Regions from separate parts of the Homo sapiens genome. Here region 1 is linked to region 2. The links are contacts of gene promoters, found by promoter capture Hi-C in blood cells and fetal thymus (Javierre and others, 2016). All regions are on one chromosome and are shown on one strand. The core of a region is centred on a gene start or on the middle of the fragment in contact, and the rest is flanking DNA. Distances in the headings are between cores, read along the strand shown. Region 1 overlaps DKC1 (dyskerin pseudouridine synthase 1). Region 2 holds the start of BCAP31 (B cell receptor associated protein 31).

Region 1 (5,858 bases), core at 2,825-5,324, 1.0 Mb after region 2:
AAGTTTAATGGTAGGCATACTTAAAAATAAGGCACATTAGGCCAGGCACAGTGGCTGATGCCTATAATCCTAGCACTTTGGCAGGCTGAGGCAAGAGGATCACTTGAGTCCAGGAAGGAGTTTGAGACCAGCTTGAGCCCAGGAGATCAAGGCTGTGAGCTGTGTTTTTATGATGATCAGAGAGTTGGCCTTTTATAAATTAAAACATTGTCTTTTTCTCTAACTTGAGGGATAAAAATTTCTGGATATTTAAAATGTTTGTAGTTGGTAATTATTTATATTCAAATCTTGTATAGATGTTCACATTTTTTGTATGTGTATAGGCTGTAATAAATACTGAAAGATGGCACCATAATAGTTGAAAAAACTCAGTCACAAAACAGTGGACAACATAAATGTGATGTCCTCTCCTTATCAAACCATTGGCTTCTGGGTGAATGTAAAGGGAGGGGAGAATGTGATCAAAAGAGGTCTAGGTGAGTGGAGATGGTATGAGGCAGATGGGTGCATTGGGTACCATTGAACCTCTGGAGAGGTAGCCTTAACTTGTACCCACTGACCTATAAATTCTGCACCAAGACTTTTGTGTGATTGGTTCAACAGGGCTCAGTAATCTTGTTTTCAAGTTCTTTAAGAGCCTGTTATTGCCTGGATCTCCAGTAAATCTGTTCTTTCTCCTCATAAGGAGGAGAGAGGAGTAATTAAGGAATGCCAAGGCTATTTTTATGTTTCAAATGAAAATATGGACCACGTGCGGTGGCTCACACCCATAATCCCAGCACTTTGGGAGGCCGGGCCAGGCAAATTGCTTGAGCTCAGGAGTTTGAGACCAGCCTGGGCAATATGGTGAAACCCTGTCTCTATTAAAAATACAAAAATTAGCTGGGCGTGGTGGCACGTGCCTGTAATCCCAGCTCCTTGGGAGGCTGAGAATCACTTGAACTTGGGAGATGGAGGTTGCAGTGAGCCGAGAATGTGCCACTGCACTCCACCCTGGACAACAGAGGGAGGTTCTGCCTGAAAATTAAAAAAAAAAAAAAAAAAAAAAGAAAATACTTGTGAGTCTCTAGAACCTGAAAACCTGAAAGTCTTCTTTACTACTTTTGAGTCGTGTGTAATGTGCGGAGAGTGGTACCTATAGCACAGTGAGGTGGCTCTTCTGAGTACCACTCATGCCCCTTGCAGCTAGTGGGCTATAAGTGTCATCCCTGTTTCCTGGTGTCAGGCCCCACTCCCTTGTTGTCCTCCTTTACTCTGGTGTGGGAGTGGGGTGGAGGGCAGCAGCTGGGCCCCTTACACTTGGTGCCATCTCTGCAGGTAAATGCCATCTGCTATGGGGCCAAGATTATGCTTCCAGGTGTTCTTCGATATGAGGACGGCATTGAGGTCAATCAGGAGATTGTGGTTATCACCACCAAAGGAGAAGCAATCTGCATGGGTAAGAGGGGATGTTTATTTTTTAAATTCTAAATGTTTGTGGTTACATACTAGGTGTATATATTTATGGGGTTCATGAGATGTTTTGATACAGGCATGCAATACATAATAATCACATCATGGAGAATGGGGCATCCATCTTAAGCATTTATCCTTTGTGTTACAAACAATCCTATTTTACTGTTAGTTATTTATCACCTTAGTTATTTTAAAATATACACTTAAGTTATTATTGATTATAGTCACCCCGTTGTGCTATTAAATAGTCTCACTCTTCTTGTTCATTCTTTTGGTTTTTTGGTGGTGGTGTTTTTTTTTTTTTTTTTTTTTTGAGACAGTCTTGCTCTTTTCACCCAGACTGCAGTGCAGAGACGTGACCTCGGCTCACTGCAACTTCTGCTTCCCAGGTTCAAGCGATTCTCGTGCCTCAGCCTTCCGAGTAGCTAGGATTACAGGTGCACACCATGACACCTGGCTAATTTTTTGTATTTTTAGTAGAGACAGGGTTTTGTCATGTTGGTCAGGCTGGTCTCGAACTTCTGACCTCAGGTGATCTGCCCTCCCAAAGTGCTGGGATTACAGGTGTGAGCCACCATGCCGGGCCTGATTTTTTTTTTTTTTGTACCCATTAACCATCCCTACCTCCCTGCCAGCCCCCCACTACCCTCCCAGTCTCTGGTAACCATTCTTTTACTCTTCTCTGTCCATGAGTTCAATTGTTTCGATTCTTAGCTCCCACAAATAAGTGAGAACATGCAATGTTTGTCTTTCTGTGACTGGCCGATTACACTTAATATAACGATCTTCAGTTCCATCCATGTTGTTGGAAATGACAGGATCTCATTCTTTTTTAAGGCTGAATAGTAATCCATCGTGTATATGTACCACATTTTCTTTATCCATTTATCTGTCGATGGGCACTTCGGTTGCTTCCAAATCTTGGCTACTGTGATCTCTTTGATAACACTGATTTCCTTTATTTGGGGTATATACCCAGCAGTGGGATTGCTGGATCCTATGGTAGCTCAATTTAGTTTTTCGAGGAACCTCCAAACTGTTCTTCATAGTGGTTATACTAATTTACATTCCCATCAACAGTGTACAAAGGTTCCCTTTTCTCCACATCCTTGCCAGCACTTGTCATTGCCTGTCTTTTGGATATAAACCATTTTAACTGGAGTGAAATGATATTTCATTGTAGTTTTGATTTGCATTTCTCTCGTGATCAGCATTGAGCACTTTTTCATATGCCTGTTTGCCATTTATTTGTCTTCTTTTGAGAAGTGTCTGTTCAAATCTTTTGCCTGTTTTTTGATCAGATTATTAGATTTTTTTTCCTATAGTGCTGAGTTCCTTATATATTCTGGTTATTAATCCCTTGTCAGATGGGTAGTTTGCGGATATTTTCTCCCATTCTTATGCATATGGATATCTAGTTTTCCCAGCACCATTTATTGAAGAGACTGGTTTTTACCCAGTGTATGTTCTTGGCACCTTTGTCAAAAATGAGTTAAATGTAGGTGTGTGCATTTGTTTCTGGGTTCCTTATTCTGTTCCATTGGTTTATGTGCCTGTTTTTATGCCAGTACCATACTGTTTTGGTTACTGTAGCTCTATACTATAATTTGAAGTCAGGTAATGTGATTCCTCCAGGTTTGTTCTTTTTGCTTAGGATAGCTTTGGCTATTTTGAGTCTTTTGTGGTTCCATGTAAAGTACCAGTGTTTTTTAACTTGTGAAAGCTTAGCTACTGTTGGATTGTCTCTTAAGACTTTAAATGCTCTGCGCACCCTCTTAGTGAATGAACCTTAGAGCTATTCATTTAATGGGTCTAATTTGTACCAGAAGTAAGCATGTCATCAGGATTCCTTAGCTCTGTGAGCAGGCAAGGCAGCCACGGCTTATGGACAGCAGCAGAAAAGGAATCCTTAAAACTTCAAAGGTTCTGTGGCCCCAAAGGGAGTGTGCATGCCGTTCTTATAGACGTCTTGAGCTGCAAGCCTGTTATGTGTATCGTTAGGTGCTTTGGTTAGGTGTTTTTTAACTTCAGAAGTTTAACGTCATTTCAAAGGCCTCCTTCTCATAATGGAGTATTTCCTCCATATGCACATCCTGAGCAAAGGTAACCCCAATTAAAGTAGTAGCTCAGAGTTTTAAAAGTTTTAAAGTGGCATACAACAGTAGAATTGGGGCTCATCAATTATCAATTCTTTCACCCTTCAAATAATTCTTTTCTTTATTCAATGCCTGTAGCTATTGCATTAATGACCACAGCGGTCATCTCTACCTGCGACCATGGTATAGTAGCCAAGATCAAGAGAGTGATCATGGAGAGAGACACTTACCCTCGGAAGTGGGGTTTAGGTCCAAAGGTAAGTGGTACTGGGTTGCGTGCCCTGCCAGGTTCTTTTTTTTTTTTTTTTTTTTTTAAATTTATTTTTTTATTGATAATTCTTGGGTGTTTCTCACAGAGGGGGATTTGGCAGGGTCATGGGACAATAGTGGAGGGAAGGTCAGCAGATAAACAAGTGAACAAAGGTCTCTGGTTTTCCTAGGCAGAGGACCCTGCGGCCTTCCGCAGTGTCTGTGTCCCTGATTACTTGAGATTAGGGAGTGGTGATGACTCTTAAGGAGCATGCTGCCTTCAAGCATCTGTTTAACAAAGCACATCTTGCACCGCCCTTAATCCATTTAACCCTGAGTGGACACAGCACATGTTTCAGAGAGCACAGGGTTGGGGGTAAGGTCACAGATCAACAGGATCCCAAGGCAGAAGAGTTTTTCTTAGTGCAGAACAAAATGAAAAGTCTCCCATGTCTACTTCTCTCCACACAGACACGGCAACCATCCGATTTCTCAATCTTTTCCCCACCTTTCCCGCCTTTCTATTCCACAAAACCGCCATTGCCATCCTGGCCCGTTCTCAATGAGCTGTTGGGCACACCTCCCAGACGGGGTGGCGGCCGGGCAGAGGGGCTCCTCACTTCCCAGTAGGGGCGGCCGGGCAGAGGCGCCCCTCACCTCCCGGACGGGGCGGCTGGCCGGGCGGGGGGGCTGACCCCCCCCCACCTCCCTCCCGGATGGGGCGGCTCCTGCCAGGTTCTTTTGTTTGGCATTGTTGAATACTTGGGCAGCTCTTGGTGTGTTTCACCACCACAGCCTTGTATTGTGCTGGGCTCTGGGTTGTCGATGAGTGGAAACAGGCCCTGTCTTGGGCCTTAGAGATTTCAGTCTAATGAGGGGAAACAGTTGGGCATTACTCACGTAATCACACAGTGGAATGGCGAATTTCATGCACGTTAGTGGCTACCAAGGAGTGCAGAGAGGTGTCTGTCACCTGGAGTGTCCACAGTGGTCAAGGAGTCTGGTCAAGGGATTGTCTGTTAAGCCACACCGGTGTGAAGAGTGGGTTAGGTGTTGGTGAAGTGAAGAGGGGAGGGGAGAGTTCAGGGCATTGGGAGCAAGCAGCATGTGCAAAGGCAAAAAAGTAGAGTGGCTGCGGTGGGGACGTTATGTCTGCAGAGGCTCTCACTAATAAGCTTTGTGATCTTCAACAAGTCCTGTGTGTGTTGGAGTTAGTGGGCAAATTCTGAATGCTCTGGAGAGGAGTTTGAGGCCCTGCTGAGAATACACCAGGGAGGAACCTTGTTCTATTCTTTGTAGTCACCATGCCCGCTTCCAGCATTGACACCATTCTAATGTTGACACCTTGATGTTCCACCAGGCAAGTCAGAAGAAGCTGATGATCAAGCAGGGCCTTCTGGACAAGCATGGGAAGCCCACAGACAGCACACCTGCCACCTGGAAGCAGGAGTATGTTGACTACAGGTGAGGGCAGGATGTTTCAGAGCCGGGGTGGGTAGAGACGGCACACTTGCTGCCTTGATGCAGGAGTATGTCAACAACAGGTGAGGATGGGAAGGTAGAGCCCACTTGCCATCTGGACGCAGGAGTACATGGACAACAGGTGAGGAACAGGTGAGCATGGAGGTTGTAGAGCCCAGGGGAGGGGGAGTCACTTGGTTTGGGGCAAACTTGCTAAATGCAGGACCACAGGAACCAGCTCTTCAGCTCCCGTGAGATTTTGGCTGCCCAGGCCAGTTAGGGGTGTGGGCCTGCACGGCAGACAGTTATCCCTTTCTAGTCTGGCTCGTGGGACTCTAGAGGGAGTCAGTCTGCAACAGTAAGTGGTGAGTTCTTCTGTCCAGCGTCAGTATTTTGATGGTGGCTTTAGACTTGCCAGATAACACTACATAACATCAGTACTGCCCTGGAAAGCCATTCAGTGAATTTGACCTATTGCTACCTCTTTTTCAGTGAGTCTGCCAAAAAAGAGGTGGTTGCTGAAGTGGTAAAAGCCCCGCAGGTAGTTGCCGAAGCAGCAAAAACTGCGAAGGTGAGTGGCATGCTGTCCTCAGTTTG
Region 2 (6,210 bases), core at 3,711-6,210:
CACTGAGGTGCTCAGGCAGCTGGCACCTACCCTATGTGGTTGGAAGCTGTCAGGTAACACTTGGCCTGTTCAGAGGCAGTCCAGCCTGAACATATCCTATCAGGCTCTGAGACATCAGGAAGGAGAAATGCCTAATGCTGAAGCTGGTGGGTGAGGCTTTGCACATTCCCCTGAACCACAGCCCCCCACCCGCTCAGTGTTTCTGCTGGGACTCGGTGGGAGGAGTGTTCCACGCCTAGGCAGGCACCACAGCTCTGAGACAAGAGTGGTGTCCACAGCAGAGCCAAGCCAATACTTTGGAGCCCAAACAGGGGGACATATCGATCACTTACCACAGCAAAACAACAAACATCTACCAGTCAGACAAGAGCTTTATTGATTCTTGTCTCCAGATGGTCACCCTACCACCTCATTGCAAAATGTCTGCCTTTCATCTTACCACCACCTGGCCTGGCCTTATCCCAGAGCCTGCTTGCCCTTGGACCAGTTTATCTTTCAAGCACCTGCTAGTGTACACCTCAATGTCAGAGTTTACAGAACTACAGAGCTGGAACGACCTGGGAAAACCTCAAGTCTAGCCCAGATGCAGAGAGGTCTAGGATCTCTCCCCAAGATATGCTGCCACACATCTCTGTGTTCTCCTCCTACTACTACAGGGAATGGCAGGACTTCACTGTGTGCTTGGTTGCTCAGTCCCCCATTAGAGGCCCTGCTCCAGGCAATTCTGCTGTTTAAGTGACTGGTGAGCAGCACTACTCAGACCAAGGTCACAGGCCAGTTAGCTTCTCTTGGCTTCAGTTCTAGAGTGACCTGAGGAGCAGCCTCAGAAACCTTAGGCGTCCCTCCTTCCAAGGTCTTGAAAAAAAGCAATGTAAGGTGGCCGTCATAAGCTGCATACAAACTGCTTGGTATAAGCCCACGCCCACTGCTAGAGGGGCCTCTTTTTTTTTTTTTTGAGATGGAGTCTCCCTCTTGTTGCCCAGGCTGGAGTGCAATGGTGCGATTTAGGCTCACTGCAACCTCTGCCTCGTGGGTTCAAGCAATTCTCCTGCCTCAGTCTCCCAAGTAGCTGGGATTACAGGTGCCCGCCACCACGCCCAGCTAATTTTGTATTTTTCGTAGAGATGGGGTTTCACCACGTTGGCCAGGCTGATCTCGAACTCCTCATCTCAGGTGATCCACCGACCTCAGCCTCCCAAAGTGCTGGGATTACAGGCATGAGCCACCATGTACGGCCTAGAGGGGCCTCAAAGTGAAGAACCGACTAGCGGTCAGCAGCATGGGCAAAGGGAGCCTCTTCCCTCCCTCAAGAGAAAGACACAGCATTTCATTGGTCTGTCTCCTAGCAGCCAAAACTGGATGCTACACATCAAAAGTGGCAAAGGGTTTTGCAGCAGAGACCAGGGTCTAGGTCAGGTAGCTGCCCTCAGCCATAGCTCACTCACCGATGACCAACAGCACAAGGATGACAATGAGAACCACAAAGAAGGTGTTGCCATAGGACACTAACAACTCCACCAGCCGGGACTTGAAAATCTTCTGCCATCTGTGAAGAAGACAAAAAGGACAGGAGTTGAAGAGAAAGCACACACACGAGCTCTAGGGCCCTGAGCAAAATGGAAATCCAGCTTTGTACTCTTCTCCAATGGCCGAATAGCCCATGCAAAGTCAGCCTCAGTGGCTTGCAATTCTCTAATTTGACATCCATTCAAGACTATTGGAAAAAAGGCCAGGTGCAATGGCTCACACCTGTAATCTCAGCACTTTGGGAGACCAAGGTGGGTGGATCACTTGAGGTCAGGAGTGCAAGACCAAACTGGCCAACATGGCGAAACCCTGTCTCTACTAAAAGTACGAAAATTAGCCAGGCGTGGTGGTGGGCACCTGTAATCCCAGCTACTCAGGAGGGTGAGGCAGGAGAATCACTTGAACCTGGGAGGCGGAAGTTGCAGTGAGCCGAGATCGCGCCACTGCACTCCAGCCTGGGTGACAGAGCGAGACCTTGTCTCAAAAAAAAAAAAAAAAAAAGATGCTGGTCCACGTATAGATCAAAATGTCTGGAAAACTAATCTTTTTTTTTTTTTTTTGAGACAGAGTCTTGCTCTGTTGCCCAGGCTGGAGTGCAGAGGTGTAAGCCACCGCGCCCAGCCTGGAAAACTAATCTTAAACGTGGGCAGTTGGCTGGGCGCACTGGCTCACGTCTGTAAACCCAGCACTTTGGGAGGCTGAGATGGGCAGATCACCTGAGGTCAGAAGTTCAAGACCGGCCTGGCCAACATGGTGAACTCCCATCTCTACTAAAAATATATATATAAAAAAAAATTAGCTGGGCATGTTGGCAGGCACCTGTAGTCCCAGCTACTCGTGAGGCTGAGGCAGGAGAATTGCTTGAACCCGGGAGGTGGAGGCTGCTGTCAGCCGAGCACCACACCACTGCACTCCAGCCTGGGTGACAGAGCAAGACTCTGTCTCAAAATAAAAACAAAAACAAACAAAAAAACCACAACAACAAAAAGAAAACATACTGGTAGTCTCTGAAAAGGGAAACTTACTTTTCATTGTACTCCCCTTTGTAATATTCAAATGTTTGCCCCATACACGTTATTTCTTTAAACTGTCTTTCCACATGATAAACCTTGGTTTGTCTATATCCCCCGACCCTGTTATGATGAGATGGACCCCAGACCTCACATCATTTCCATCCACAAATGCTTTGGGATGCAGCTCTAAGAAGAGACTTCAGAAGTGTTTACATATTGTTCAAATCAACAAGAAGCCCTCATCATCAGGGCTAGAGTTGAATATGCCAATCACTGAAGGCAATGATATTTGTTTGAATCCGGACCCAACAAGGTACCGATTTGGCATTCGGTAGATAAACGTCTTAAATCCAGCTTATTCTGGAAGCTCCCCCTTCCCTCTCCCTCTTTCATTTGCTTTTCCAGTTTCCTTTGTGTAGAAATCAGATTGTCTGTCCTCTAAAGCTTCCCAGATTAAAGCTCCCCGGGGCCCTCTATCTCTGCACGTCTTGTCAACTGTACGAAGGTGTGGTTTTCTACAAGAATCCTCCTCAGACAGCACTGCATACTTTCTATGGTATCACATCAAAGATAATTTTTCACGAAAAAACGGCTTTTAAAAATACCTGTGGAGATTTGGCCTTATTTGTAATATCGTAATTTAAATAGGGATGTGTTCAGGTATTATACATAATTAAAATTAATCTCCAATTCACTTTTAACAGGTCCTCTGTTCATTAAAAGGGAATATGGCTTCATCCTCCACAGGCTGAGTAATGTTCATGCAGCCACTGCGCAATACCAGTGAGACTAGTTAGGAGGACAAGAGTCACCAAATCAGCAACAACGTGACCCAGTGGTGCAAGTCTTCCGAATCCCACGCTACCATCCCAGCACCCCGTGGACCAAGAGTGGGTGGGAGGGCATCATTTCCAGAACTGTAACATAGATCTTCCTGCCTCTCGGGGGCATTCTGAAGACCAGAAGGCAGGGGACACAGGAAAAGGAACTGAGCAAGTCATGACGAAGCAGAACCCTGGGAAGGGTTGGCAATAACAAACACAACCCCTGCCACCCCCACCCCAGACAGGTTCTACCTGTTCCATCGGGTCCCAATTCCAGGGTCCACCAGCTGCACACACCAGTCCCAGGGCTAGGGCACAGGCACCCTCCTGCCTAACTCGCCTGCTTGCTCCATAGGCCATACCTTTTAGGAGAAATGAAGGGAATGCAGAGAAGCAACACAACAAAGACCTCCGCATAGAGGAAGGTGGCAACTGCAGTCCACTGCAGACTCATCCTGTTGCTAGAAGGTTTCCCACAGGAAGATGTGAGCTTGTTTCCTGGCAGGGCACAAAAGGTACGGGACTTGTAAGCGCTGGGCAGCCAAGAACATCCAGTTCAGTTACCCTGCGAGGCTGGGGCCGCCACTCTCCACCCTGACCCCCTGCACTTTGCTTCAAAGTCTCTGATGCGCTGGCGGAAGCAGGGCTCCACTCGGCAGGGCCTCTTGGCCAGCAGCGTTCACAGGCCCCACAAACTTCCGTTCGCTGGTCAATTACCTGCCCCCTCCAGCACGTGTGTCAACACGTCCAGAGCGGCCTCTCCCGACGATCCCTGCCCCAGGAAGCCCGAGATTTCCGACGCCCGTTTAACTGAAAGGCGTTCTTCGGGAAGAGCAGTGCCAGGGCACCAAGAGGAGGACGCCTCGGCACCCATCGGGCGCTCCCTTCCCCGCCAGGCAGAACTCAGCCGCAGAGGCGGGCGCTCTGCGGGCCCAAATCCCCGCTACCAGGCAGGCCCAAGGCCGCACCTAGTCCAAGCGCTGCCGACGCCCCCGCCTCCCACCGTCCCCACGGCGCCCGCGGAGAGAAACCGGCACCTCCCTCGAGGATCCAGCGGCCTTCCGCCCGGGGCCGCTTCGCCTCCGGTGGGCTGGAGGCCCGCAAGAGCGACTCCTAGAGGGCAGGATTCGGGACCAAGCGCAAAGGCAGGTCTCGACCAAGCACCTCAAGGCCCCATACGGAGAAAGTTCTAGACGCAGTATCCTCAGAAGCCAGGGGTCCTTACAGTAGCCCTCGCGGGCCCCAGCGCCCACCCAGAGCGAGGGGCCTCCGACTTGGCCCCGGCCTGGCACACCGTCCCGGAGGCCCATCCCGGCCGCTCCTCCAGGTGGGGCTTCACCGCCCCCCGCCCCGCCCCCGAGACCAGCTTCTAGAGGCGCCGCCCGGTTTCCCCTCGCCCCTGCCTCTCACACGCAGGTAGGCTGCGGGCCCCGAGATTCCCCGGCCCCCGGGCCTCCCCGCGCCGCTCGCCTCTCTCCCTCGTCGATGGGCCGGGGAGCCTCCGCGGTCCCGGAGCCCAGCCCGGCGCGCGGAGCCCGCTCACCGAGTTTCCCACAGTCAACGTGCAGGCCCCGCCGCAGCAACAGAACTCTCCCACAGCAGCCCCGGCCCCGCCCCTCATACCGCGGCCGGAAACCGGAAGCGCCCGCCGGGCACCGCCCACCAGCCCTCGCGAGGCCCCGGAGGCTCCGCCCACCTCCGCTTCCCACCCCGCCCCGGAGCGGAGGGCCGGCGCTCCGAGCGGGAGAGGAAGAGGCGCCTCGGGCTCCGGGCGAGCAGGGCGGGGTGGAGCGAGCACGCGGGCGGGGCGGGGCGGGGCTTTGTCGGGCCGGCGAGGGCCGCTTCTCTAGTCCGCGCGGCCGTCCCACGTCTCTGTGGTGCGGGAGGGGCCCCGCCGAGGGGCGAGAACGGGAGGTGGGGGTGTGGGCGGGCCCCGCCGAGGGGCGAGAACAGGGTGGGGCTCCCGCGCCCGGACTCCGCCCCTCGCCCCTCCTCCGCCTCCTCCCCTTCCCCCGACTCGCCCCTGGGGAAGAGTGGGTGGGGATTCTGGGCCGGTGGAGGAGTCACTGTCGCTTCAGCCAGGCTGCGGAGCGGACGGACGCGCCTGGTGCCCCGGGGAGGGGCGCCACCGGGGGAGGAGGAGGAGGAGAAGGTGGAGAGGAAGAGACGCCCCCTCTGCCCGAGACCTCTCAAGGCCCTGACCTCAGGGGCCAGGGCACTGACAGGACAGGAGAGCCAAGTTCCTCCACTTGGGCTGCCCGAAGAGGCCGCGACCCTGGAGGGCCCTGAGCCCACCGCACCAGGGGCCCCAGCACCACCCCGGGGGCCTAAAGCGACAGTCTCAGGGGCCATCGCAAGGTTTCCAGTTGCCTAGACAACAGGCCCAGGGTCAGAGCAACAATCCTTCCAGCCACCTGCCTCAACTGCTGCCCCAGGCACCAGCCCCAGTCCCTACGCGGCAGCCAGCCCAGGTGACATGCCGGTGCTCTCCAGGCCCCGGCCCTGGCGGGGGAACACGCTGAAGCGCACGGCCGTGCTCCTGGCCCTCGCGGCCTATGGAGCCCACAAAGTCTACCCCTTGGTGCGCCAGTGCCTGGCCCCGGCCAGGGGTCTTCAGGCGCCCGCCGGGGAGCCCACGCAGGAGGCCTCCGGGGTCGCGGCGGCCAAAGCTGGCATGAACCGGGTATTCCTGCAGCGGCTCCTGTGGCTCCTGCGGCTGCTGTTCCCCCGGGTCCTGTGCCGGGAGACGGGGCTGCTGGCCCTGCACTCGGCCGCCTTGGTGAGCCGCACCTTCCTGTCGGTGTATGTGGCCCGCCTGGACGGAAGGCTGGCCCGCTGCATCGTCC

What was found. Contacts are between HindIII fragments. The CHiCAGO score rates a contact against its expected background, and 5 or more counts as called.
Region 1: a contact is called between a fragment that was not itself captured here and the fragment with the promoter of BCAP31 in region 2, in 1 of 17 cell types (monocytes). The highest score is 6.1, in monocytes.

Annotation. Positions count from the first base shown.
Region 1 is chrX:154,769,442-154,775,299 of GRCh38, forward strand. It overlaps DKC1 (dyskerin pseudouridine synthase 1), which reads left to right. Exons shown (of 15, transcript NM_001363.5): 10 at 1,318-1,438; 11 at 3,690-3,808; 12 at 5,161-5,264; 13 at 5,754-5,832. It overlaps SNORA56 (small nucleolar RNA, H/ACA box 56), which reads left to right and starts at 5,557; the gene lies at 5,557-5,685. The HindIII fragment of the contact is 1,797 bases long and covers 3,177-4,973 here.
Region 2 is chrX:153,719,427-153,725,636 of GRCh38, forward strand. BCAP31 (B cell receptor associated protein 31) reads right to left here and starts at 4,961. Exons shown (of 8, transcript NM_001256447.2): 1 at 4,908-4,961; 2 at 3,727-3,862; 3 at 1,446-1,546. The coding sequence starts at 3,818. ABCD1 (ATP binding cassette subfamily D member 1) reads left to right here and starts at 5,430. Exons shown (of 10, transcript NM_000033.4): 1 at 5,430-6,210. The coding sequence starts at 5,841. RefSeq lists silencers at 4,240-4,419, 4,630-5,589 and an enhancer at 6,050-6,210. The HindIII fragment of the contact is 9,880 bases long and covers 2,983-6,210 here.